5 separate regions of the Homo sapiens genome follow, and regions 1, 2, 3 and 5 are each linked to region 4. Evidence: promoter capture Hi-C in 16 types of primary human blood cells and fetal thymus (Javierre and others, 2016). All regions are on one chromosome and are shown on one strand. Each heading gives the region's core, a stretch centred on a gene start or on the middle of the fragment in contact. The rest is flanking DNA. Distances are from core to core; before and after follow the strand shown. Region 1 overlaps GRIN3A (glutamate ionotropic receptor NMDA type subunit 3A). Region 2 overlaps GRIN3A (glutamate ionotropic receptor NMDA type subunit 3A). Region 3 overlaps GRIN3A (glutamate ionotropic receptor NMDA type subunit 3A). Region 4 holds the start of NIPSNAP3A (nipsnap homolog 3A). Region 5 overlaps GRIN3A (glutamate ionotropic receptor NMDA type subunit 3A).

Region 1 (4,897 bases), core at 2,314-4,813, 3.0 Mb after region 4:
CTCAGAAACATATTTTAAATCACTGTTGTCACTGTTACCTTCATGGCACACATCTTGAAAGGGAGAGATTATTATATTAACTCAGATCTAGTTTGTTCAACTGACTACATTTTCTTTCATCTCCCTTTTTACTTTAAATTCAAACATATCTAATTTGTCTTACTTTTGGTATCTCATTTAAATGTCATTCTATAATATTCTGTATTAAGAATGTTCTGATCAATGCCAAGTCACTGTAATATATAATTTTAAGATGACCGTAATCTGCTTTCAGTGAAAACAATAACTGATCTTTCCCTTGCTTCTCTGGAAAAGTGGACCTTCCTCTAATGCAGTGATGTGATTTTTAAAAACTTTCTATATATAAAAGGATGTCAAACTCATTTTACACATTAAATAAAATTGACTTAATCTAGCCACCATCCTCGGAGTCTACTGCCCAGTGACCTAATTTGTTGGTTGTGTGCCACTCCCTGAATAAAGGATTCGAGAAGAAAGTGGACTTTTTCACACAACCAAGTAAAATAAAATTGTGTCTCTTACTTAAATCAAAATTGCTTTCATAGCAAGAGCAGCAACAGCTGTTTTCTCTCACTTTATTTTGGGCTGCTGATTACATTCATCTGAAGGTTTTAATTAATGAGCAATAGTTTTGGTAACATCCTGCCACAACTCTTAAATGGAAAGAGCTGCCACTGAGATGGACAAACCCCTGAGAAAAGCATAATAGTTTTATTTCAATACACTATGTATTCAAAATAAGATAATCACATAAGATCATCACCTTCTAGGGGATCAGCTTCTTTCAAGTAGGGAAATTCATTAAAAGTAAGTTAGTTAACTACATACTTTTGGAAAACATATGTATATTATAACTGCATAATAAAAGCTTAATAAAACATTAAACATAGGATGGGGTCAAAGCAGTTTTCCATCAAAAGAATTCTGACTTCACTACAACACTCAAACCCCACTTGAGGCTAACCCATTTTATTAAAATGATTACTTCTTTGTTCTAAATTCTATTCTTATAACCTTCAAATAATGATGCTGAATATGAACCTAATTCCATTTACACCTAAATTAAATTCCTGCAGTTATACTTTCTTTCTCTCTCCTTCCTACATGACTTTTTCTTCTACAGGTTTTGTGTAGTTTCTTCAAAGTTAACTCCCTAAAGTTTACCTGCTGAAGTAGTGACAAGTACACATTTTTTAAAAAAAATATACACCTCACCTTAACTTCATATTGGTTCTATTAGGCAGAGTTAATGATGTAATATAATTGGCTTAGATCCAAATCCATGCAATTCAAAAGTGACTGCACAGCCAGGCATGGTGGCACCTACATGTAGTCTCAGCTGCTTGGGAGGCTGAGGCAGGAGGACTGCTTGAGCCCAAGAGTTCCAGACTACCCTGGGTGACATAGTAAGACCCTGACTCTTAAAAAAATTTTTTAATTAAAAAAAAAAGTGATCCCACTACTATTTTCAACACTCTCGTTGAATACACCAACCACAACTTTGCCTGCTTCATGAGCGATATGTACTAACAAATTAATATATGCTTCTTTCATGGAAATACAAGTGTTTTAAATTGTGCATTTTCTCTGACAGTACAGGACTAAGCACTGAAGCCTATTTATTAGAATTTGGCTAACAAAGCACTATTTTTGCATGGCACAGGGGTACCTCATGAGGGGACCAGTAAGGGATATTTATTTTTAAAACATCTGCTCTCAACTGTGTTGGTTTTCTTTGACTTGCTCTATGCAAATCACAGCTCTTTCTCCTCTGGGGGAAATGTATTCTGCAATTCATGATGAATAGCTGATAGTCGCATCTAATTGTTGCTGACTTAAAGATAAACAATTTCAAATTAAATGTCAAGTGATGCAAAACTTTTTAAAGCAGTGATCTTTTACAGGTTCCTCTTGAAGAACAGAGACCTGGCATTAACTTGGAAGTATTTTTTAATTTAGTTATTTACTTACAATATGTATTCGCTTTTCTAGATAAGTAGAGCAAAGGAGACTAGCAGGCACCATTTATTGAGCAATTAGTTTGTCTCTCCCGCTTTACTTTGTGCTTGCCAGAAGAGTATCACTTAATCCATGAAGAATATATTTGCTCTTGATTTTGTCTGACCATTATATCTTAGAGTTAATTTATGATCGAATCAGCTGAGGTATCTGAAGACTGATGCCAATTTCTAATTCCTCGTGTTTTATCTTCTGGTGCTGCAGAAGGCACCATGGATTTTGTACCATTAGATTTTATTTTATAAATAACCCCCCAGTCAAATTCCAACCACAATAGTTAAAAGAGCACAATGTAATGAAACGCATATGAAATAGTGGCCAAAATGTTCCCAATCTGCCTCTTTCGTTGCAGATGTTCCCAATCTATCTCTCACTAGCCATGTAATTTTGGGCAAGTGACTATCTCTGAGCATCTACACTTATCAGAAGTGTAGATCAAAAGAAGGTACTTTACCAATCTGACAAAGATGTTGTGAATCAAATGAGAAAGTAAAAGTACTTTGGAAAAGTTATAGTGTTACCCAAATAACTAGTGGAGAGGTGTTGGTCATTATCTGGTAAGAATCACTTAAGTGTTAAAGTTCAACTAATTTTCTTTTCGAAATTACTAATCAAAATGAGATATGATTCACATGTAAAATGTTTGCATTCCCCTTACACCTTCCTCTTTACCCTCTCCCTCATTTTTTTCTCTTAAAAAAAAGTGGGCTTAGAAATAAACAAACAAACAAAAAACTAGGTTCCTAAGTAGGTTGCACACTTGCCTGGAAAAAGAAGACATGCCACAGTACTGTTTCTGTATTACCAGCAACTTTTAACCTATGGCACATCTAACACAGCTTCTAGAGCCTTAAGTCCTGCCATAGAAATATCATTAAGATGCCCAAGATATTTGAGAAATGTTGGTCCTTCACATTGCTCATAAGTTTTTTCTATAGGCAAACTATCATTCAGGAAATTATGACCATACAGAGTCTACCCCACTCTCACTCCTATTCCGCCAACTACACCACAAAGCAAACATCCAAATTTTTTCATAGCAAACTTTCTTGATAAGGAAAGCAGTGTGTTGATTCATACTGACCTAAGCTCCTTATCTCATCATGGATATATAATTTACAAACCAGCTACTTTGAGTCCCATTGCCCTAGATAACTGTATACTCTCTTAGGAAAGTATTGCTCATTTTAGTGGCAACAGTAAATATAGAGATGAGAAATCTCATTGTCTTTTTTTCTGCTAGCTCTGGCTATTGCCACATATACACAAGAATAGAGGACCTATGTAGCACCAGAAATATGATGCCAAATCCATAAAACTAGGCAAGAAGAAAGAACATCTCTTAGCATCTGCCATATTACTTTTTGAGTGAATGTTTGAATGACAAACTCATAGAAATTTTTAACCTCTCAGTTGTCTTTTGCTGATATTTTCTCTATGAGATCACAGGAGCAAAGAGCAATGGGGAAGAGGTGAGCTAAGAGTAAGCCAACTCTCTCCATTTCCTTCTCCTTTCCTCAACCTGACACCTCAGCCAAATTCTCAGATATTTTATTTAATTGTGTAAGATTCATGCACTTTCAGGGAGACTGTCAACTGTATTTGATCTCCTGCCTTGAAAAAGTGGGTTGATCCCTGACCTGGCTGGCATTATGTCATGAGGAGTAAACTTTGACATTGAAAGGCTGGTGTCTGATTGGCCAGGGCTGGTTTGTTAATGGAGATGAGCCTGCAAGGGTTCATGTGGTAGAGAATTAAGCAGGATGACTCCTTTTTCAGTCAGGATGAATTACACCTCATCGTTATTCATTTGAAGCATAGATTTAGGAAGAATTTTAATCATATTATATTTTTGCAGCATTTATGTTTTTCAAGGCTTTTTCACAAATATGTTTAAATAATCTCCTAACAGCCCTGTAAAGCAAATGACTATGTATAGACAAAATATGGAGAAATAGAAAGAACTATGCATTGTAGGAAGTGAGAAGCCATCCAGAAGAAAAACAGACTAATAGCACCTTCTTAACTTCGTCTATTTGTCAGCCTTCAACCAAAGAACAGATTGGATCCATCACAGCTTTTGTAATATCCCATAAGAAAAGGCATAAAAGAGAGAAGTATCTACTTCCAGGTTGGACTATTAAAAGCATATTATATAATAATGTTCAAAATGATGGAAATGTAATTAATTGAATCATTTTTTAACGGAGTACAATGTACTCATTCAAAATGAGGATATATTTATTGACACAGAAAGATAGAAAAATTTTACAAAAATGTATGTAAAGTGTGACCTTGTTCCTGTAAAATATGAAGTCTAGAACTTTGTTTATAAAAATCTTAACAGGGATTATAGAGGGTGAAAATCTACATTTTTCTCTATTCATGCATCTATTTTTCTAAAAATAATCATTTTTACCTACAGAATTAAAAAATAATAAGAGAAAAAAGATAAGTTGTCTTTATACTTTCTCATCTAGACTTTCAATACTTCAGTATGAAAATACATATTTTAGAAAGAATAAATTGTAGTGTATGTTTAAATGTATCAAAGCCCTCTCTCATCTCTTTTATAATTTTTTCCTCACAGTTACTTTGTGAGGAGAGCCAGAAAAATATTATTACCATTATAATGTAAATGAGATAATTATAACATATGATGGAGGAAATATAAGGTGGGAGTTAAGAGATTACATTTTTGAGAAGTTCAGAGCTATGTTAGAATCTTGGCTGTACAACTTTTTAGACATCCTACCTTGGAAAACATACCTGATGTCTCCATGTTTCAATTTATTAAGTCATAAAATGTGATTATCTTATAAGTTTATGGTGAGGACTGCACCATATGTACCTAGAG
Region 2 (4,706 bases), core at 706-3,205, 3.1 Mb after region 4:
ATCTTCCTCCAAACCCGGGAATAATAATAGGGCCTGACTGAAAGTGTGAAATATATTTAATGAGATCGTTTATGGCGAACACCTGGCTTGACAAATGTTCTCTCCTTCCCTGATTATAGAACCATGCACGCAGAAAAAATACATATATTTGGTGAATAATAAGCATAGACAAGAAATTACAGTTGGTGCACCCACCCTCTTAGGCCCATCTTGGTCCCATCTCGAAAAAAGCAGGAGCATCTTATCATTACAAGCATCTTCTAACTCCGAGATAAACACTCTTTTATGTATTGCTTACGTATGTTATAGAACCAAATAATTTTTTATTTCAAAATGAGAAATGCATGATTCTGGAATTTTCTACTTTTCAAATTGCTGGTTTAACTAACTTTTGTAGTGTTGTGTTCTTTCTTTCCTCTAGCTCAGTGTCTGAGTGGGAAAAAGTGAAGATGCTTTATACAAACCATTAGACTGCACTTAAAACAGATCTTTACGGAAACAATGGTAACTTGGTCTTTGCATGTAGTCAATTGTATTTCGAAGTTAGGCTCCTGTGTGAACAGGCCCAAGACCTACAATTCTCTGGTCTTGTTTTCCCCTCCCTCCGTATCATCACAAGATTAGGGCTGCTTCTCTGTTGCTTTCTGGCTACTATAAATAACACAAATTAGGATTCTGAGAGAAGGAAAACTAATTTCAGCAAGTGTCTCCTTCACCCTTGCTAACGACCAAGTAAACAGACCTCTCGGAATAAGAGTCCCCGCTTTTATATGCCAGAGATACTTGGGCATAAATTACACCCAAGACCACATACTGTTAAGAGTTCTTGCTTTTCCCCTGGTTAAATTCGGCAAACTCATGAATATTTATGAAATGCTATTTACTATGCAACTAAAAGGTATGAACGGTGCTAAAACTGATTAGGACTATTGTGAGAGACAGTCTTCCTTCCATTTTTTTAGACTTCCATGCACTAAAGTCTGTGGGGGATCACAGGAAATGGGACTCCTCACTCACCTCTATTCCCTGTGCAGAGAGGAGTTGCCTCCAGGCTTTGAGGATTCGGGTTTGAAGAAAGCGGAGAAAGCATGGAAATGTGTGAAGATTGCCATCTAGTGGCTATTGATGCGAGTTGTTACAAAATACTGCAAAAGCCATCTTTTTTCTTTCTCACAAAAGGCAAAAACCAAGTCTAAAATTGTGAGAAATTGCCCTGACATTTCCTCCAGGGTATCTGAGGACAATTCCTCCCCATGCGGCTGTGGGAGTTGGTAGAATTTCAGGACGTGTTGGATGAGAAGGCAACATCATGAGAGAGCCCTGGAGCCTTTATAGAGATGCCCCTCTTCTCACACAGTATAGGTGGCTTCCTGCAACATGAAAGCTTAGGGCTAGCTGGCCAGGGAAGCCAATGCACGCACATCTGGGGCCTCCTCTGAGCTCCTTCCCTCTGTCCTTCTGTCCAATAAGACTTCAGCCTAGGTGTTATGGGTTGGATTGTGTCCCCCAAAAAAGATATTGAGGTTCTGAGGTCCTAATTCTCAATACCTCAGAATGTGTTCTGGTTTGGAAATAGGGTCATTGCAGACATGTTTGGTTGAGCTGAGATGCAGTCATATTGCAGCAAGAGTGAACCCCGAATCCAGTATGACTGGCATCCTTGTCAGAAGCCATCTATCACACAAAGACAGACACTCAGGGAGAGCACCATGTGATGATGAAGGCAGAGAATGGATTTATGCATCTGCAAGTCAGGAAGGCCAAAGATGACCACAAACCACCAGGAGCTAGGAAGAGGCAAGCAAGGGTTGCCCTACAGGTTTCAAAGGGAGCATGACCCTGCCAACTCCTTGATTTCAGACTTCTAGCCTCCCGAACTAGGGGACAATAAATGTCTGTTGTTTAAGCCACCCCGTTTGTGCTGCTTCATTACAACAGCTCTTGCAAAATAATTAATACACTCCACATTTTACTTCTAGTGCCTCTTGCATCCCAGCTCAGGCTCTTCTAGACAAGCATTTGTAGATGTCATTGTTTCCTAGCTGCTCTCCCAGATACTGGTCTCTTGTCCTATTCAATCTACCCATAATGCCAGATTAATCTCTCCAAAATATAATTGTGATTAAGTTGTTCTTTTGATAAAACGTGTGCTTTCCCTACTGGGTAGAGACTAAATGTCTTAGCCAAACATTCAAAACCCTGCTTCATCTGGTTCTGTCTAGCTCATCTTCTGCTACTTTGCTCAAGTACTTCAGCCATTATAAGCAACTTGCTAATATCTACACCTGTACTCTTTCCCACTTCTGTGATTATGGTACTTGTTCCCTTTTCTCCCTCAGGATCAAATACTTCTTGAAGAAAGAAAAAAGTCTTCCTCTATTGTTCCCAGCAAGAAGTAATTTCTCAATTCTCTGAGTTCTTATAGTTCTTTTCCCTTACCTCTCTGATGACATGTTTTGTTGTCCATCTTGTATTATTAATTATAATTCTTTAATGCCTCAATTCACTCACTGATCAGCAAGCTTTCTGAGCAAAGACCATCTCTGAATGTCCCAATGCTTTACATGTTAAAACATGATTGAATAAATGATGCCCTATAAAGAATAATTGAGTAAATGTTGTCTTTTCTTCAGTGTATGGGGAATGGTCAAACCATCTTATCACTTCGTCCAATACCATGCTCTCCCTTGACCTCCCTACTCCGGTATGCTCCATATGCTCTCCCTTGACCTCCCTACTCCAGTCACACTGGCATTCTTTCAGTTCCTCCTACTTGTTTTGTTCCTCCTGCCCTAGGGCCTCTTTGCACATGGAGTTTCTTCTACCTGGAACACTCATTCCTTCCCAGAACATCTAGTTAACTTCTTCTGCTTCTTGAGATTGTAAATCAGTCATCATTTCCCCAGTAAAAGTTTTCTGTTGTCCAAACTCTCCTGGTACCATGTACTTCTCATCTGTAACACTCAAGGCAGGTGCTCCTTTACATCTATGGACATGATAATTTGGTTAATGTCCATCTTCCCATCAAAACTGTAAGCTCCAGGAGAACAGGGACAACAAGAAAAGTATCCACTTTAGGTCAGTATTATATTCTTCTCACATAGTAGATCCTCAATAATTATTTGTTGAGAAAACAAATAAATAGCTGAGTATATCTGTGTGCATGTATGCATACAGTCTACTTGAGTTTTTAAGCAAGCCTAAAGTAGGCAATAATTATAATCTCTACCATTCCTGTACCTACTATGTGATAGGCATTGAGCACCCTTCTTCTTATAATCTATCTCATTTAATCCTGAAAGTGATGTTATGAGTTAGTAATCATCATCCTTGTTTTACAGATGAGTGAAAAGATTCAGATAAGTAACTCTGCCCAAGGTCACAAAGTTGTTAAATAGCAAAACTTTGATTTAAAACCATACATGCCAAAATTCATTAAACACCATTTCAGTATTACAAAAGAAAACCAAACAGATGACAAACCTGATGCTCAAAAACAGTTTAAACTCGAGCTAGTAGTTCCACAGTCTAAACTGTGGCTAACGTCAGTACGCTTAGATATTAAATATGGTGACCGGCAATGCTACAGAAAGGTGAGAGCTTCCAACCAAATGTCAAGGACCACCTGTATAGCTTCTAGAACAGCTGTGTGACCTGGTCTCCTGACTGGCTTGAAAAATGAAGCCTTATATGAACCTCAGGTCTCATTTCCATTTCCGTTGGTTTGATTTTCCAATGTCAGTTATTTTTACATGTGACCTACTCAATATTTCTTTATCTAAAAACTTTTGAGGGAAAAAAATGACATGCTGAAATAGAGGTGCCATCAAGGCTCCTGGTTTCTTCCAAAACAGTTAGTCAACCCTTTTAATTTACTTGCTTCAGTGAATGTCCTACAGTCCACATCAATCCACAGTGATGAACAGAAAAGTAACAAACAGTGTTTTCCATGGAAATTACTAAGAATCATTTACAGAGAAAATCAAAACAATGGTGTTGAGTCCCATAATAATGCTGAGCTACATAGTTTATGAAAGGTAGAACAATGGGAACTCAAGTTCACATTGACTAAAACTCCAGATCTAGCATAATGTTACCTCCTCTACAGCACAGAGTAGAATGGTTCTGCTTGTACACCTGAATTATTTCAGTGAAGTGGTACCATCTTCCTAATACTGTCTGTGTAACCATTCAATATTCCTGTGACAAGATTTCACCTCTTACATAACATTTCTATATACGCTACCTCATCTGACTCTTACAATAACACATCGGTAGATGAAGCATGTGTAGGTATTATCACCATTTCACAGATGAGGATGTTGAGGCTGGTACAGCAATGGCTTCACTCAAAGGCTCACAGCTAATAAGGTAAAGAGCTGAGGCTGGAACCAACTATTTACCTCCTATGCTCTCTCCATTACCCTTTCCTACCTCCTAACCACACACTCACATAGGGAAATACAGCTAAGAGTTTTCACACTGGGAGCTCCTTTCTAAATGACTATCAAGGAATTACTCAGGAGAATGTAAGTGAGGAATCCATAAGAGTGCCTGATGGGCCAGTGATGTTGGTTACTGCATTTCTCAAGTCTGCAATGGAAGGTCTGTAATCAGTCCTCAAAGAGTTTTGAACTGGAGGAGCCAATTTTTATGCTGGTATAGCGTGTGAGCAGCCTGTGGCATACTGTAACCACTACATGAGG
Region 3 (5,031 bases), core at 1,538-4,037, 3.0 Mb after region 4:
CCACTCTGTTGCCCAGTCTGGTCTTGAACTCCTGGCATCAAGCAATCCTCCCACCTCTGCCTCCCAAAGTGCTGGGATTACAGGTGTGAGGCACCATACCCAGTCTTGGTTTTGGTTTTAATTGGCGGGAAGAATTCTTATTCTAAAAACAATAAGGAACCCATCCATACCCTCTGTTTACCAACCAATAGGCTACTTGGACTGCACCGTCTAACTTAGGATTCACTTATGTGCTAGCTAAATCCCCTTCTAATAAATGCAGATAGACACTAAGTTACCAAGCACATTGCCTAAACCAAATCCCAGTTGTCAGCAGCCATCAGGCATGTGGTGTGATTCTGGTAACCCAAGCTGGAATTTATTTATCCTCTGCTGCATTGCTTTCTGATACACAGTTCCTCTACCTAGTCATCTTTTACTGAATACATACCTAGGCTCTATCCTAGACTTCCTGGTTCAAAATCTTAGAAGGCATCAGCTTGTGTATGTAACAAATTTCCCAGGTGTTTCTGATATGCCCTTTTTGTTGGGAATCACTGATCTGAACCAATCAAGTACATTTAAAAATAACACAGCTGTCAGTTCCATGTCTGCTGGGGTGAATGTCTAATTCTTCTACCTCCTATGGTGTTTTTCCTGTGGGAATTAAACCTCTCCCAAACACGTTCTTCTTGGAGATGCCTACATTAAATAATAAAAATGTTCATCAGGGCGGAGAAGTGATTGAATGTCATTCTGACTGCCCCAGAAAGCAGAGCCCATGCAGTAGAGGAGCTCTAGTGACTTTTCCAATTGAACTAAATGGCCGAAGGAAAGGGATGGAAGTCTTTAAAGGAATTAAGAGCCAGAAGACCCAGATTACCTGGGTTTGAATCCCATCTCTGCCAATTACTAGTGGAATGCAATGATTAAGTCACCTAAGCTCTCTATGCCTTAGTTTCCTCATTCACAAAGATAGGAATCTTAATCTTAATCTTTTCTCATCCCATAAGATAGAAATAATAGGATCTGTCTCATTGAGTTTTAATAAGGATTAAATGAAATAATTTCTATGAAGTGTTAAGAATTGCCTTGTCCATAATAAGTGTTTCCAGGAATATTAGTTATATCATTGTTACATGGAATAACGATCTCATATTTTTTATTCTGTTTCCACTAGCTGGTAGTTTGTGCAATATCCTTCTGTTCTAGCAATAAGCTGATTATTAGTAGATGTTTTTAGAGTGGTGAGCTTTCATATTTTTGTGTCTTATTTGATATTTTACTGGGAAGTTGAGAGGCACTTCATCAGATCAGTTCCTGCATTTTATTGGAATCTTATGGATGAGTTCTAGAATGGTGATCCATCACTGTAATTTGGGGTTGAACAAGAAGTCAGTCATTTCATTTCCATCCAGGCTTTCCCACCATTTCCTACTCACTGCCTTGTCTACCTCATTTGTTCTTCCACTTAGTTCTGTAACTTTGAAGCAGCTCTGAAGTACAGTGAAACCCATGACCTGGTTTGAAGCTAGTGAAGTCCAGGAAGAATTGCACTCTGTAGTTCAAAAGGCTCTTCTGGGTGATAGTCATTAAGAGAGAAATTTAGTGCAAAATCAAGATCTTTCTAGGTTTTCCAAGTAATTAATTAAACCATCAGATAGTAAGTGTATTGGTGAGACTTAGTCAGTTATTTGAAGAGTGAAATTTTAATGAAAAGAATTGTTAATTAAGTACAAACTTGTCAATTAGGTAGTTGGAAGGATAATAGGAGAACTTTATGATATCGTGAATTTAAATTCTCCAAGCAGTTGCCATTCATTGAGCTGAGGAAAGAACAAGAGACTGGAAATAGAAATATTTAGAGGCTTAGAGGGGTAGCCCCATAAAGCTGAAATTCAGGCATCTGAGGAAAAGGGGTGTTGCTCAGCTGGTGATGGAATCGTTGAGCTCCAAGGAGGGACCCTAAAGAGCTCAGGTTCAGACCTTTACCCTGCTGGTTGATGGTATCTCCGAGGGCACGGAATAAAGTGGTTCTACAAATATTGAAAAATAGCTACTGTCTCTCATTAAAGATTTTTTGAAAGTCGAGACTTGGAGCCTTAATTATCTTAGCTCTCTAGTTTCCATTCACCCACCCCTACTCTGTCCAGCTTTCCAATGCTCATTTCGCTATCAATTATCTCCAGTTTTGAAAGACAGCACTAGATTCCGCCACTGCCCTGGAAAAGAACCACTAACAAGTTGAAGAAGTATTGCTGGGGTGATGCTTACAGGAACCTAGAGCAGTCAGGTAACCCACAGAAAGCAAATCAGAGACAGAAAAGACAGACAAGAAGCAGCAAACCCTTTCTCTTCCTTCAGTCTTGCAGTCTCCCCCTAGTGGCCTCTACTGGCAAAGCCCACCAGAACCAGAAACGTAATGGGTGGAATACAGTAGTCTCCCCTCTTCAAGGTTTTGCTTTCCAAGGTTTCAGTTACCCATAGTCAACCGAAAATAAACAATTCATAAGTTTTCCATTGGACGCTATTCTGAGTATCATGATGAAATCTCCCACCGTCCCACCCTGACCTATCGGGATGTGTGAATCATCCCTTCGGTCAGTGAATCCGGGCTGTATGCACTACCCGCCTGTTGGTTATCAGCATCATCTGCCCCTGACATCCAACCATAGATGTCATCATGGCTCGATGATCCAGGATCTCCCAAAGCAGATGGTCCTCCTGACATATGGTCAGAAGTTCAGTAGTAGCCTAATGCTCTGTGACAATGCCAATGCCATTCACCTCACTTCATCTCATCACATAGGGATCTTATCATCTTACATTATCACAAGAAGGACGAGGGTGAGTACAGTACAGTAAGATATTTTAAGAGAGAGAGGCCACATTCACAAAACTTTTATTACAGTATATTGTTATATTGTCCTATTTTGTTATTAGTTATTGTTATTAATCTCTTCAATTAATTTATAAATTGAATTTTATTATATGTATGTATATGAGAAAACATAGCATAACTGCTCAGAGCTGTGGAGACTGCAATTTTCCAATTCATCTGAACTAAACAGTCAAAATCAGACAATTCAAACTTTAGAAGAAATCTATTAATGTGAATGATTTGCTTTAGCCATCTGCTTTGTCATTCAGAGTGCCTAAAACCATGTCTGGTTGCCAGTCAACTCTGTACCACATAATGTTACCATAATTGTTTGGCAAAATTTCTACCTGGGATACCTCATCACCAGAGGTTGACTTTTCTCAGTCGTCCCTCCCTTAGGAAAGCAACTTGAGTAAACTGATTATATAATTTTGCCATAAATAGAAATCCCTGAGTTACAACATGAATCCACAGAACAGGGTGGAAATTGGAAGGTATCAGCCTATTGCAGATCTCTAAACTAGAGGAGATCTCCATCCAAACACTAAATTCTTACCCTTGAATATGGACTTGGGGCATCAGTCATCTGCCAAATCTTAATATATACATTGATGCCACTGATGTCTGCAAAAGATTACCAGTATTTGCATATACTTGACATTCTCTATACAACAAGTGAATTTTTATGTTAATTTGTGTGTATGCATGAGACTCAGTAAGAATTCTCCAAAATAGAAAGATTTGTTGGAATACCAAATAGCTACTATCTGTCATTTAAGATTTTTTGATAGTTGAGACTTAGAGCCTTAATTATCTTAGCTCCCCAGTTTCCACCCACCCATCTCTACCCTGCCTAGACTCCCAGTGATCATTTACCTATAATTACCTCTCCTGTTCTTAAAGACTGAACTGATACTGTCCATACTTCAAATCTAATCTCTGTATTTTCTTCTCCCGGACCCCAAAATCACTGAGATTCACCCGGAGTTCTCTAAAACAGGATTTCCAGGAAAAACAATTTAGAGAATAACAGTAAAAGAGACCAATTTTATGTAGAATAGGTTTACGTTCAAGGCATCCAAGCAACACTTTTTGAAATGTTCTTTAAGCCATCATGTTGATAGATCATAAAATGACATCTATCATTCTCTGAGTCTTTCATAACTGAAAAAGGAATAAATGCAGTGTAGAGTCAGGCTAGAGTGTTTCACTTCCTTGGGGCCTTGGGTACTTGTATAATAATTTTTAAAACATTTTTGTACTTGTGTAATAAAAATAATCACTCACCTTGATATGCATTTTACAATTTGCAAAGTAATTTCAGTCACTTAACCTTGCATATACGTAAAAACCTAAAACAACTTTGAGAGGAAGGCATTATTCTCCCAAATTACAAATGAACAAACTGAGCGTTGGGTAATTTATTTTACCGAGCAAGTAAAAAAATAAAATTTTCTGATTTTAAGTCCAGTTCTCTCTCCTCTAAATCACTACAGATGCAGAGGTCCTTCTGAGAACTTAGACGGCAGCGTGAGCTGCTACAACATCAACTATGGAATTCGTAGGTCCTAACTTCCCTCCTGACACATTAATAACCAGGCTCTGCTGCCTCCACAAAACCAAGTGTATTCTACCAAAGGTCCCATAAGCAGAAAATTGTACTCTGTTTCAATAAATGGTATATTTTTTAAAGCTGCCTTTAGATTACCCCCTTAGCACCTTGAAACTGTATTTATTATCATCTGAAGCTGGTGACATAGATAAATAATGAATCTTATTTCTTACCAGAAAAGGTCATTTGAATTTTCTGAGACCTATTTGACCTCAAATACACATTAACATATTTATCATTAGCTTCCTTTATCATGTCCGGCCTCTAGAAATGGGTAAGCATCTCATCTTCCTAGAAAAATTCAATTTCAAAAGAGAAGAAAAAAAAAACAAAGAGTTAGAATACAGGTTATGGCTAGGAAAATGTGAGCAGGCTGTTTAAAGAGTGAGTCCATTGCCAAGGGTCATAGGAATATTTTGAAATTGCCTGTGTGTTACTATCATTTAGAATCCTTTCCAAAGGTTTCTGAAAACATTTACAAGAGTTAAAGATTCAATCTTGAGCTTTCTACTATTGTGTGGGATTTATAAAATATGTCCTATGACATATTCATATGTTG
Region 4 (4,794 bases), core at 1,813-4,312:
AGAATGAAGTAACAAAAGCAGAGATCTATTGAAAATGAAAGCACACTCCACAGGGTAGGAGTGGGCCTGAGCAAGTGGCTCAAGGGCCCTGGTTACAGAATTTTCTAGGGTTTCAGTACCCTCTAGAGGTGTCCCATTGGCTATGTGGTGTAAGCCGTATATAAATGAAGAGGATGAAGTAAAGTTGCAAAGTCATTTACTCTGTGTACACCCTATGTAAATGAAGAGGGTATTTCTTGTCATAGCTGAAGGGTTTGATTTAGTTCTAGGAAGTCCTTAGGTTCCCTGCCTCAAGACCCTATTCTCCTGCTTCACATATACATTTGTTTACATAGAGGTGTCAATAAAGACAACTACTCTTAAATATGCTGAGTGTGTAGTTACTGTTTCCTAGTGGGGGTTCACTGTCACCTTTAGCCACTTTTTCAGAAATTGCTCATAAGAAGGCGCTGAGATCTTAATGATACTTCTTTATCCAAGAACTACAATTAGGATTCTAACAAATTTACAAAAGTTTTCCTATTAGCCAATATTGCATCTTTAGTCAAGAGCATACGTGTTACAGTTATGCACATCAAAGAACTTTATTAACTACGCACGTAACTTTTGGCAGGCATAATGAAAAAAATGTTTACTAGAAGAAAACTCTTTTAGGTTCTTGAAAAAAATGGAAATTACAGTTCAGGTCAAAGTATTTCCTAATTCAATGAAGTAAACCACTGACCAAAATTAGGACTGGAATGTAACTAATGCAATAAAAAGCTCTGACCTATCCAATTGCATTGTAATATAATGGTAGAACATGAATGCTGAGAAAAGAAAATTCAGAGTCAAAATTTTCTTATTAGTTTCTAATTACAGATGCAATGTGAACAACATTTAATGAATCCACTTATACCACATTGATGAAAATATCACTTAAGAACCATTAATTCCTTTTGTAATAGTCATACACGCACTGTAAATTTCTAATTTGTGTTCTGGTTGAACTTTCTGTAAGAAATACCTCGCCTAAGATTATCCTCTATGTAGGTATCTATGTGTATATATGTATACACATACACACACACATACGCACACACACATATATATATGCACTCATGGTATACACACAGGCATTCGTGATATTCTTATAAATCCATCTTACTTAAGTTTGAATAGCATGTGCCATTTCCTTAAGTTGATTACACCAGAATAATCTGTGAAGACAGTTTTGATACCTACAAAGCTATGGACAAATTAGGGCTTATACTGACTAGCCAGTATGTCTGTCTGAAAGCAGTAGGCTTTTGCTCCGACATATTTTTGTTTACAAAATACAAAATTATGTAACTGTGTATGATAAGGCTTAATGATAATTATCTAGAGTTAATTCTATTCGTGTGTGACTTATATTCTTATTGCTCAAATGACTAAGCCTACCAACAAAAACAGCTGCAGCTGCCCCTGCCTTTTGTGGACACTCTTTTTGTGCTTTTAAACCAAACTCTAGTAACAATGTTGGTCAAGAAGCAAGTGCCTAGTATCCATAATTTCAAAATTATTATAATAAAATATATCAGGAGATAGGCCAATGGGGCATTTGTGACAAATGGATTTCAGGTTGATTCGAGGAATTTGTATTTGGAGGATAAAATAGTTGATCAAAGGTACACATTTTTACAATTTTGGGCAGTATTAATATACAGTAGGGAACCTACAGTGAGAGAGGGAGAGAGATGTGGACAGGTGGTGCCAGAGAAGGAAGACTGCAGGGGAGCCGGGTATGGTGGGGGAGCCGGATGGGAGTTAAGAATTTTGTTGCAGGGATGACTTTTAGCTGCTAGGGCAGAAATCATGAGTCGTCCATCCTCCCTTATCTCCAAGTTAGGGATCATTCCCACCAGCAACGACCTCCACTTCACTTAAAAGAGAACAACTGATGGACATTTCTAAAAACTTAAAGTTTGGAATCATGCCATAAGGACGTCATTCCTGGCCCTGCCCCACTGGAGAATCATTAGGGTAAAAACTGCATTGTTAACCCGGGGTGAATGGACATGAGCTGCTCTTCTTTAGTGCTCCTCAGTCTGTCTCTAGGACAGGTTAATCCCCTTCCCATCCTGCCCCTTCAGAAAGGAGTAAAGTCCTAAACATCAAAAGGAAAAGAAATTTCTAGGTTGAAGCCACAGAATAGGCCACTCCCGAAAGTTAGGGCAGAATCACAAGCTCCATTTTGTCCATTTCTCATCTAAGGTTAAAAGAGTCTGTCTGTCATCGTCCGGTTTGATAGGAGGCTCCGGTCCCGCCTGGTTGGGGGAGCGACCACACGAAGCGCGGGTGGCGGGCAGGGTCCAGCCCCACCGGGACCCTGGGCCTCCTCTTCAAGGGTCTCCGCGAAATGCTCGGAAGTTGTGTGCTTCATTTAAAAGGGGGAGGCCGGTTCCGTGGCAAGCGGCTGGTTGACAATTCCCTCCTTCAACCTGATGTCTAGAGAGGGCGGTGGCTTGGAAAGCTACGACTCCACCCGCGGCTCCACAGCGCCAGGTGACAACATGGGAGCGCTCGCTGGGCCGCAGCCGCGACATAGCTGGGCAGCAAAAACGAAACAGCCGGCGCCATGGGAGTGTCCCGGTGGGTGTGGCATCCAGGCTAGAAAAGCCTTCTGACCACCACTGCCCGCGAGACGACCCCGGCTGGGGGTATTCCCCTAGCAGCGGCCTCCTCCTCACGCGCGTTCCGGGTACCCCTGTCTTGGGGTTCCGGGGCTCACGCTAGAACCTCACCGGGGCCCCAGGTCTGGGCGCGCGTGGCGGAGAGCGCATGCGCATTGCTCGCACGTACCCGGAACACTCCCCGCCCCGCCCCTCCCCTCCCGTCGGGTGAAGGCTTGGGTACCCCCGTGGCCGGTACCTGAGGCGCCAGCGTCCGTGAGGCCAGCGCCCGAGTCAGGGCGCTTCTGAGGACGAGCATGGCGCGGCTTCGGCGCTGAGAAAAGCAGCCAGCCGTGTCCTTTCTGAGACTCCTCTGAAGGTTTCCCGAGTGGAAAGGAGCGGCTCCTGGATCATTGGCAGACGCAGGCTGGGGCGGGGCTCGGCGGGGTCAGCTCCACCCCGGCGCGGGAGGCGCGGCGGGTCCCGTAGCTTGGTGTCTTTCTCTGCTGTGCTGAGCGTTGGTTCCCCCTTGGTTTCCTGAAACGTTCTTACCCCAAACGTTAGAGGTGACGTTAGGATTAACTGAAGGCTCGGATCGTTCCTGCTTCAACTTTCTGGGCCCTCACTCACCTCATTCGCTCCAGTGCTCAGTTGTGTAGATTGGTAAATGTGCAGGGGTTGTGGGTGTGTTGACCATGGGGAAAGAAGGAGAGGTGTTGAGTGCGTGCATGTGCAGTGCTTTGTATTTAAAATCGTGGAGGTTTTTTCCGAGTTAAGTTTTAGATGTTGTGATAGACGTGTATTTGAGCCTGACCTCTCTGCAATGAATGTGTTCTCCATCTTAGAAGGCTCCTAATTAAGATTTAGATTAAATTTTCCACGAGCTCAGAGAAATGGCAGCATCGAGCCTGAAATGAAAAAGTCAAAGTTAAACATACCCTGGTCTAGTCCTCCCAGTCCGGGAGTGTTGGTTCCCAGAGTAACCACCTTCAACATTTCAAGCTGTTTCATTTAATGCTTGTTTCTGTATTTTTAAGTAAGTAGTGTTTTCTGCTGTTTATTGCATTTTCAGTTATGGATAGTATGTGTTGACTTCCTTCTGTGGCAGATGAGGATTTATGTCTCATAGATGCCACTGCCCCCAAATTCACTTGTCTTCCTGCATCTAATAATGCTTATGTTAATTTACAGTAATTAATTACACTATTAATTTACAGTAATCTATATTAATGTTTACATTATTCTTGCTAATAATTACATTATTGTAAACATTAATGTAATATTGCTTACATCATGAGGACTAGGGAGGGATTGCAGGGCCATGACCTGGGTTGTATTGGTTGTGCCTTGTGGAAGAGCTTTGGAATTGTCTGTTCAAAGGAAGGGAGACTTTTTAAAATTAGTTATTTCGGAAGGGTTGCCTCAGTTTTTCTAGAAGAGAGACATCTATTTGTAACCATGCAAGACTAAAAAAATCATTTGTATCAGGACTGGATCTATATGAGTAAATTATTTTCTTAGACCTTTTTTTTTAAACCCTGTAATTGCCAATCCATTTACTTATTCAACAGATATTTACTAAATTCCTTCCATGTTCCAGGCACTTTTCCAGAAACTGGGGTACAGAATTGAGCAAAATTCAAAGTCCCGTCCTCTTGGAACATCCAGGATGGAGGAAACAGATAAAAAAAGGAAGAGTAAATATATCAGGGATTGTCAAATAATATAAAGAAAAATAAAGTAAGATACGAATAAAGGTGCTAGTGGAATTCTAAAAGTGGTCAGGATTCTAGCTATTGACTTGGATATTTAGGATTTAGGTTTCTTCATACCACTCCCTCAAAATACACTTTCCTTCCTGCGTTTATTGATGTTTACATTAAAAATATATTTTGGAGTGAGAAAAACATGTTAAAAGCACTGTAAGCACAGGTGAATCTCTTCAAATAGTGGGCTTCACTGTGAGGTGATCTGACCTGGGTATTTCACTGAAGGCTGTATCCCCTCCCCCCAAACTGTTATCTGCAAGTTATTTATCTGTGTAGTCAGTGTTAGGGAAGGGAAACTTCCAGTATCTTATCTGTGTGAGAAAAGCCTTGCTGCCAGTTTCCTGAGGCTGAGGAGGGAAGAAGGCCAGAACACTCAGCATTTGGTAGTATCT
Region 5 (4,973 bases), core at 845-3,344, 3.1 Mb after region 4:
AAACTGATGTCATTAATTATGCAACTATCATTCTTTTTTAAAGTGTTGTTCATGAAGAAATACAAGTTTCATCATTTCACAAGAATTGCTACATATGGGAGGATGAGCGAAGAAAACAGCTGGGAAGCCATGTGCACACTGGGCAGCAGGCTGGAGACTCCCTGACTCCCATGGCCCAGAAACACAGGGAATGTCATTCTAACTCATGCCTCAGACACCTTACAAGTGGCTTTATTCCATGGGCCTTTAGGATTACTGGCAAATAATTGGAAATTATTAAATCTACAAATGTCAAGGATCTACTGCACATGTTGCTTTTATCAAGTAGAGGGAACAGTATAGAATAATAGGTAAAAGCACAGGCTTTTGAGTCCAACAAATTGTGGTTTTGAATTCAGGCTCTATTTTTTTTTTCTTTTAGACAGAGTCTCACTCTGCACCCAGGCTGAAGTGCAGTGGCACAATCTTGACTCACTGCAACCTCTGCCTCCAGACTCAAGCAACTCTCGTTCCTCAGTTTCCTGAGTAGCTGGGATTACAGGCACGTGTGACCCCTCCGTGCAATATATATATATATATATATATATATATTTTAGCTGAGATGGGGTTTCACCATCTTAGCCAGGCTGGTCTCAAACTCATGACCTCAGGTGATCTACCACCTCAGCCTCCCAAAGCACTGGAATTAAAGGCATGAGCCACTACACCTGGCCCAAGCTCTATTTCTTAGTAGCTGTGCCACCTTGGGAAAATTACTCACTTTTTCTGAACCTTGATTTTGTCTTCTATTAAAGGGGGATGATCATTGCAGTCACCTCATGAGGCCATTGTGAGGATGAAATAAAATAATATGCATAAGGCACTAGGGACATCAGTAGGTATTAGCTCTTCATTTGTATAATTATTATTAAATTACAATTTCTGGGCAGGGACTACACCTTATGCTTGTCTGTGTCCTTAATGTAACCATAAGAATAGTTAATTTATTTAAAAGCCTGGGCTGCTAAAGGAACAATCTTTAATTTTCAGAAGAAAAAGTCTTCTGTATAATATAGGTCAAATGAGATGTGAGATAATGAGAAACAGAAAACCTCCTGCAGCCTCTTTGGCTGAGGAGAAGCGATAGCTGTGTAGAAAGCCTGTTCTGAGCCTCTCAAATGTATTTAGTAATCAGCAGACGGATGAAAGGAAGGAAATTTCATCTCTGGTAAAAGCAGTGGAAACATTATGTTCACTTGAGCTTTTTGGGCTTTGACCTAGCTCATTTGGTTCCCCTTGCCCAGGAAAGAGCTGAGAGAATTGCATCTTTTCTCTTCTCTTAAACCCAGCCCCATCACCTCTTTTATTCAGTCAGGGAATATCTCAAAGCTCTGTGGCAAACTCTTTCCTGCAGGCAATCCTGTTTTTGAAACTCTTACTAATCCACAAACTAGCAGAATCTGTGCTCTCTGAGAGAACAAAGACTGATGAGGGATCTCCAGGAGTTGGCACCAAGAATTCCTTAACTTGCATGCTGACTGGTACTGGAGCTTGTTACTAAAGAAAGAAGAGTTGGGGGTGTGGGGAGGACTCTACTGTAAACATAGTATCTCCCAAATAAACAGCCTCTCCCAATATGTTACAGAGCACTTCTGTTTTCCTGCTGAGAAGTTGGTGTAATTTATGTTTGTAAAAGATATCTATTGCTGAGACCATTGTATGAAAATAGACAAGAAAAAGGAGAAGGAGCAAAAGCAAAGAAAAATACTGTATTGCAGTCAGTCACTTCCAACAGTGACTAAACTCTGTAAGTCAATTGTAACAACTACTACTTATGGGCCCTCACTCTGCGCCAGGCACTTTCCATGCATTCTCACATTCTTACATTTAATTCTCAAAATGAATCCATAAGTTAGGAAGTAGCATTGTCCTCATTTTAGAGATGAGGGAGGTATGACTCAGAGATACTAAATGACTTACAAAAGGCCACATGGTGCATAAATCATGGAGACAGAACTTAAGCATAGGTTGCCCTGACTACTAAGTCCTAACCTCTATACTGCTTCTCAAAAGAGGACAGAAAAGCCCAACTGCTGAAGAAGACAGTGGCCCCACCAGCAAGGAAAACTTAGAACTTAAGGACACTGTAGAACCTGCTGAAGAGGACAATGCAGAATCGCACAGGAAATATAGAAGCAGATGGTGGCTCCAACCATTTATCTGAGACTAGGAAGACAGTACCCAGTCAAAGAAGAATGGATGGTCAAAATGAGACTACATTTTTAGTTAAATGTGTTTACTTTTATAAATCATTATATATATTTACCTATATAGTGATCAATTGTTTTCAAATACATCTCGTTTTTTTCTTAAGTCCCAATTAAAGAACGCTTGTATAGTACAAATACTCGTCTCTCCCAACCCCTACAAATCATAATTACTAAATTAATATTTCCTAGTTTCTTCTTCCTCTCCTAGTTTTGCTGGACCCTATTATTTCATTTACAGTAATTTTCATGACTTCTAGTTATAGGAAGTGTTTATTCATATAGTTAGTTACATATTGTCTATCTCTCATCCACCATAGAGACAACAGGAAATGCCATGCAGAGGTCATGGCTCAAGGTAGGAGCTTAAAATTATTTTTCATGATTGAATAAGTGTTCAGTAAAGGCTTCTATTTCCTTATTGACTAGTAAATGTTTTATACATTTGGTGAACATTAACTCTTTGTCTACCCAATTTATTACTAATATTCTCTTGTTTTTCATGTTCCTTTATTTTTTATGATAGGTGTTTAAAACTAAAAATACGGTGTGCTGTGATAATTCAATGTTTTCCTTTTATTATTGTAATTTCTGATACATATTTACCTTTTGGTCTATCTTTTAATGATTTGATATTGTACTTTTAGCTCTTTAATGGCCTGGAACATATTTTTAATATATGATGTAATGAGAAATTTAATTGTTATTTTTCTAACTAATCTATTTTCTCAAATTCTAATATCCTATTTCCTTCCCTATTTCTTTGTTATTTTAATTTATAACACAGTAATTTAATACTCCATTAGTACCTATTAGTACCTATTAGTGCTTCCCTGTTTTAATTATTATTGCTTTATAAAAATGACATTTTCTAATGTGTTCTAATATCCTCCAAAGCAAGGCCTATCATTTTCTTTTTCCAAATATTTTTACCACTCTTGCCTGATTTTTCTGTATATGGAACTTTAATATTTACAGTCTGATCCATAGCGGGTTAAGCAATCTTCTCCCACACCACTGAATGATTCTTTGATGCTTTGAACCAACTTCTTGGTGACTCCTCTCTCCCTGCAGCTCTGCACTTACTTGGGATTTCATTCTACGAGTGCATGGCAGCACACACATTCCCCAGCCATATTTCCTGCCCTATTCTTTTGGAAATTTCAGGCTCTGAAACAATGTCTAACCAGATTATGATGGAACAAAACCTGCAAAATTAATGGAGTAGAGTGGAGTTTCATCTCCACTAGAAATGAAGATTCAATTCAAAGTGTAGAAAAATTACATTTTAAAATCTTTTAAATTACCTATTTAGCTTGACATATATGGTTTTGTGTATACAATATGAAAAATAATATAGCTACATTAAAGTATGTGATAATATAAATAATATACCATAATATAATAAGTAGCACACTTATTTAAGGGAATGAGAATTATCAGTACTATTTAAATTCATATTTTCTCCCTCCCACCTCTCTCTTCTGAGCCTGTTTATTTTAATATAGATAAATTGAATGTACCTATAAGGCAGTTTCACTCTATCTGCATGATAGAGACAGGCTTCCTATTTCTTGAGTTGTTCTGTTTCTGGATCTCTGATTTAGGAGAAAAACAATATGGAAATTACTTTTAAAATCTTTATATCTTCTTTCAGGCCATGAGCTTGCTCTTTTGCAAACAACAAACCATATGTAAGACACAGATTTTCCTTTTCAATTTTACTCAATAGGTCTTGTTTAATTTTTGTCCTGGATTTTGACAAAAATTTTACTATCAGGCTTGAATTTTAGTGTTATAAGTTTTCATAATCTTTGTGTGTGTGTGTGTGTGTGTGTGTGTGTGTATGTGTGTGTGTGCATGTGTATGCATGTGCATATGTGTGTGCCTTTGTCCTTATATGGGGAGAAATTGGAAAACACTGCATCTGAGGCTGCTAAATCAATAATATCTCATTAGATGCTTCTAAACTATCATTTAATAATTTTCTGAAGAAATATGTCTCAAGTTTGTGTAAGGATTAATTTCAACATCTGGAATTTCTCAGTAGAATTGTTTGTAGGGGTGAGTGTGATTATATGAATTAATCATTATCCATTGTAGGGGTCTTCATTTCACTCCCATGTCTCTCTCTCTCATGCCTATTGGATTTGTTTCTCTGTCTAATACTAAATGCTCAATATGATTAGCTAATTCAACTTCCTATTTAGCAAGAAAGCAACAATTTCATCCGTGACTCTTAAGCCATATTATTGATTTTTAAATCTGTCCTATGGGTGATTCGGAGGTTATGGTGCAGGAGAATGATATGGTCATATTTGTATTTTAGGAAGAAAACTGGCAACAGAATAGGGAGCTGAAGCCAAGAAAACACTTAGGAATAATTTGTTCCTGCTAGCTAAATGTGGAGCTTGCCTTCCATTGCTTTTTGCTTCTAAAAGAGGATTAAGACAGAGGAGGAAATAAAAAGGAAGAAGGAAAGGAAGAAAGCTAAAAGAGGAGGGCAAAAGAAAACACAGGAGCAATTTATACAAATCAAAATGAGGAGTGAGGAAATGAAGCTTCCATTTCTCTCACCTCAAGATCCTGCTGGCAGCTCAAGCCTGGACACCCAGAGCTACCTATTGGATCCTGTCTCCTGGTTTTTGAGACCTTTCTCTCTTTTGCCTCTCACATCTGATCTTGTCACTAAATCCTTTTTATTTTATTCTATTCTATTTTTGAGAC

The links. The method cuts DNA at HindIII sites, captures the fragments that hold promoters and counts their contacts. A CHiCAGO score of 5 or more calls a contact.
Region 1: a contact is called between a fragment that was not itself captured here and the fragment with the promoter of NIPSNAP3A in region 4, in 9 of 17 cell types (naive CD8 T cells, total CD4 T cells, total CD8 T cells and 6 more). The highest score is 15.8, in naive CD8 T cells.
Region 2: a contact is called between a fragment that was not itself captured here and the fragment with the promoter of NIPSNAP3A in region 4, in 15 of 17 cell types (total CD4 T cells, naive B cells, endothelial precursors and 12 more). The highest score is 56.3, in total CD4 T cells.
Region 3: a contact is called between a fragment that was not itself captured here and the fragment with the promoter of NIPSNAP3A in region 4, in 10 of 17 cell types (naive CD4 T cells, naive CD8 T cells, total CD4 T cells and 7 more). The highest score is 17.5, in naive CD4 T cells.
Region 5: a contact is called between a fragment that was not itself captured here and the fragment with the promoter of NIPSNAP3A in region 4, in 4 of 17 cell types (M2 macrophages, naive CD8 T cells, M0 macrophages and 1 more). The highest score is 11.2, in M2 macrophages.

What each region holds. Positions count from the first base shown.
Region 1 is chr9:101,730,428-101,735,324 of GRCh38, reverse strand. The region is part of intron 1 of GRIN3A (glutamate ionotropic receptor NMDA type subunit 3A); the gene reads left to right. Among named protein-coding and RNA genes, the nearest start is that of GRIN3A, 5.8 kb to the left of the region's middle. The HindIII fragment of the contact is 5,344 bases long and covers 892-4,897 here.
Region 2 is chr9:101,598,750-101,603,455 of GRCh38, reverse strand. All of the region lies in intron 6 of GRIN3A (glutamate ionotropic receptor NMDA type subunit 3A), which reads left to right. Among named protein-coding and RNA genes, the nearest start is that of PPP3R2, 6.1 kb to the right of the region's middle. The HindIII fragment of the contact is 1,138 bases long and covers 1,387-2,524 here.
Region 3 is chr9:101,708,868-101,713,898 of GRCh38, reverse strand. The region is part of intron 1 of GRIN3A (glutamate ionotropic receptor NMDA type subunit 3A); the gene reads left to right. Among named protein-coding and RNA genes, the nearest start is that of GRIN3A, 27 kb to the left of the region's middle. The HindIII fragment of the contact is 6,514 bases long and covers 1-5,031 here.
Region 4 is chr9:104,745,951-104,750,744 of GRCh38, reverse strand. NIPSNAP3A (nipsnap homolog 3A) reads right to left here and starts at 3,062. Exons shown (of 6, transcript NM_015469.3): 1 at 2,893-3,062. The coding sequence starts at 2,952. It overlaps LOC107987105 (a long non-coding RNA gene), which reads left to right and starts at 3,106. Exons shown (of 5, transcript XR_007061705.1): 1 at 3,106-3,296. RefSeq lists an enhancer at 2,499-2,658 and a silencer at 3,079-3,168. The HindIII fragment of the contact is 7,745 bases long and covers 1-4,794 here.
Region 5 is chr9:101,688,863-101,693,835 of GRCh38, reverse strand. The region is part of intron 1 of GRIN3A (glutamate ionotropic receptor NMDA type subunit 3A); the gene reads left to right. Among named protein-coding and RNA genes, the nearest start is that of GRIN3A, 47 kb to the left of the region's middle. The HindIII fragment of the contact is 5,431 bases long and covers 1-4,809 here.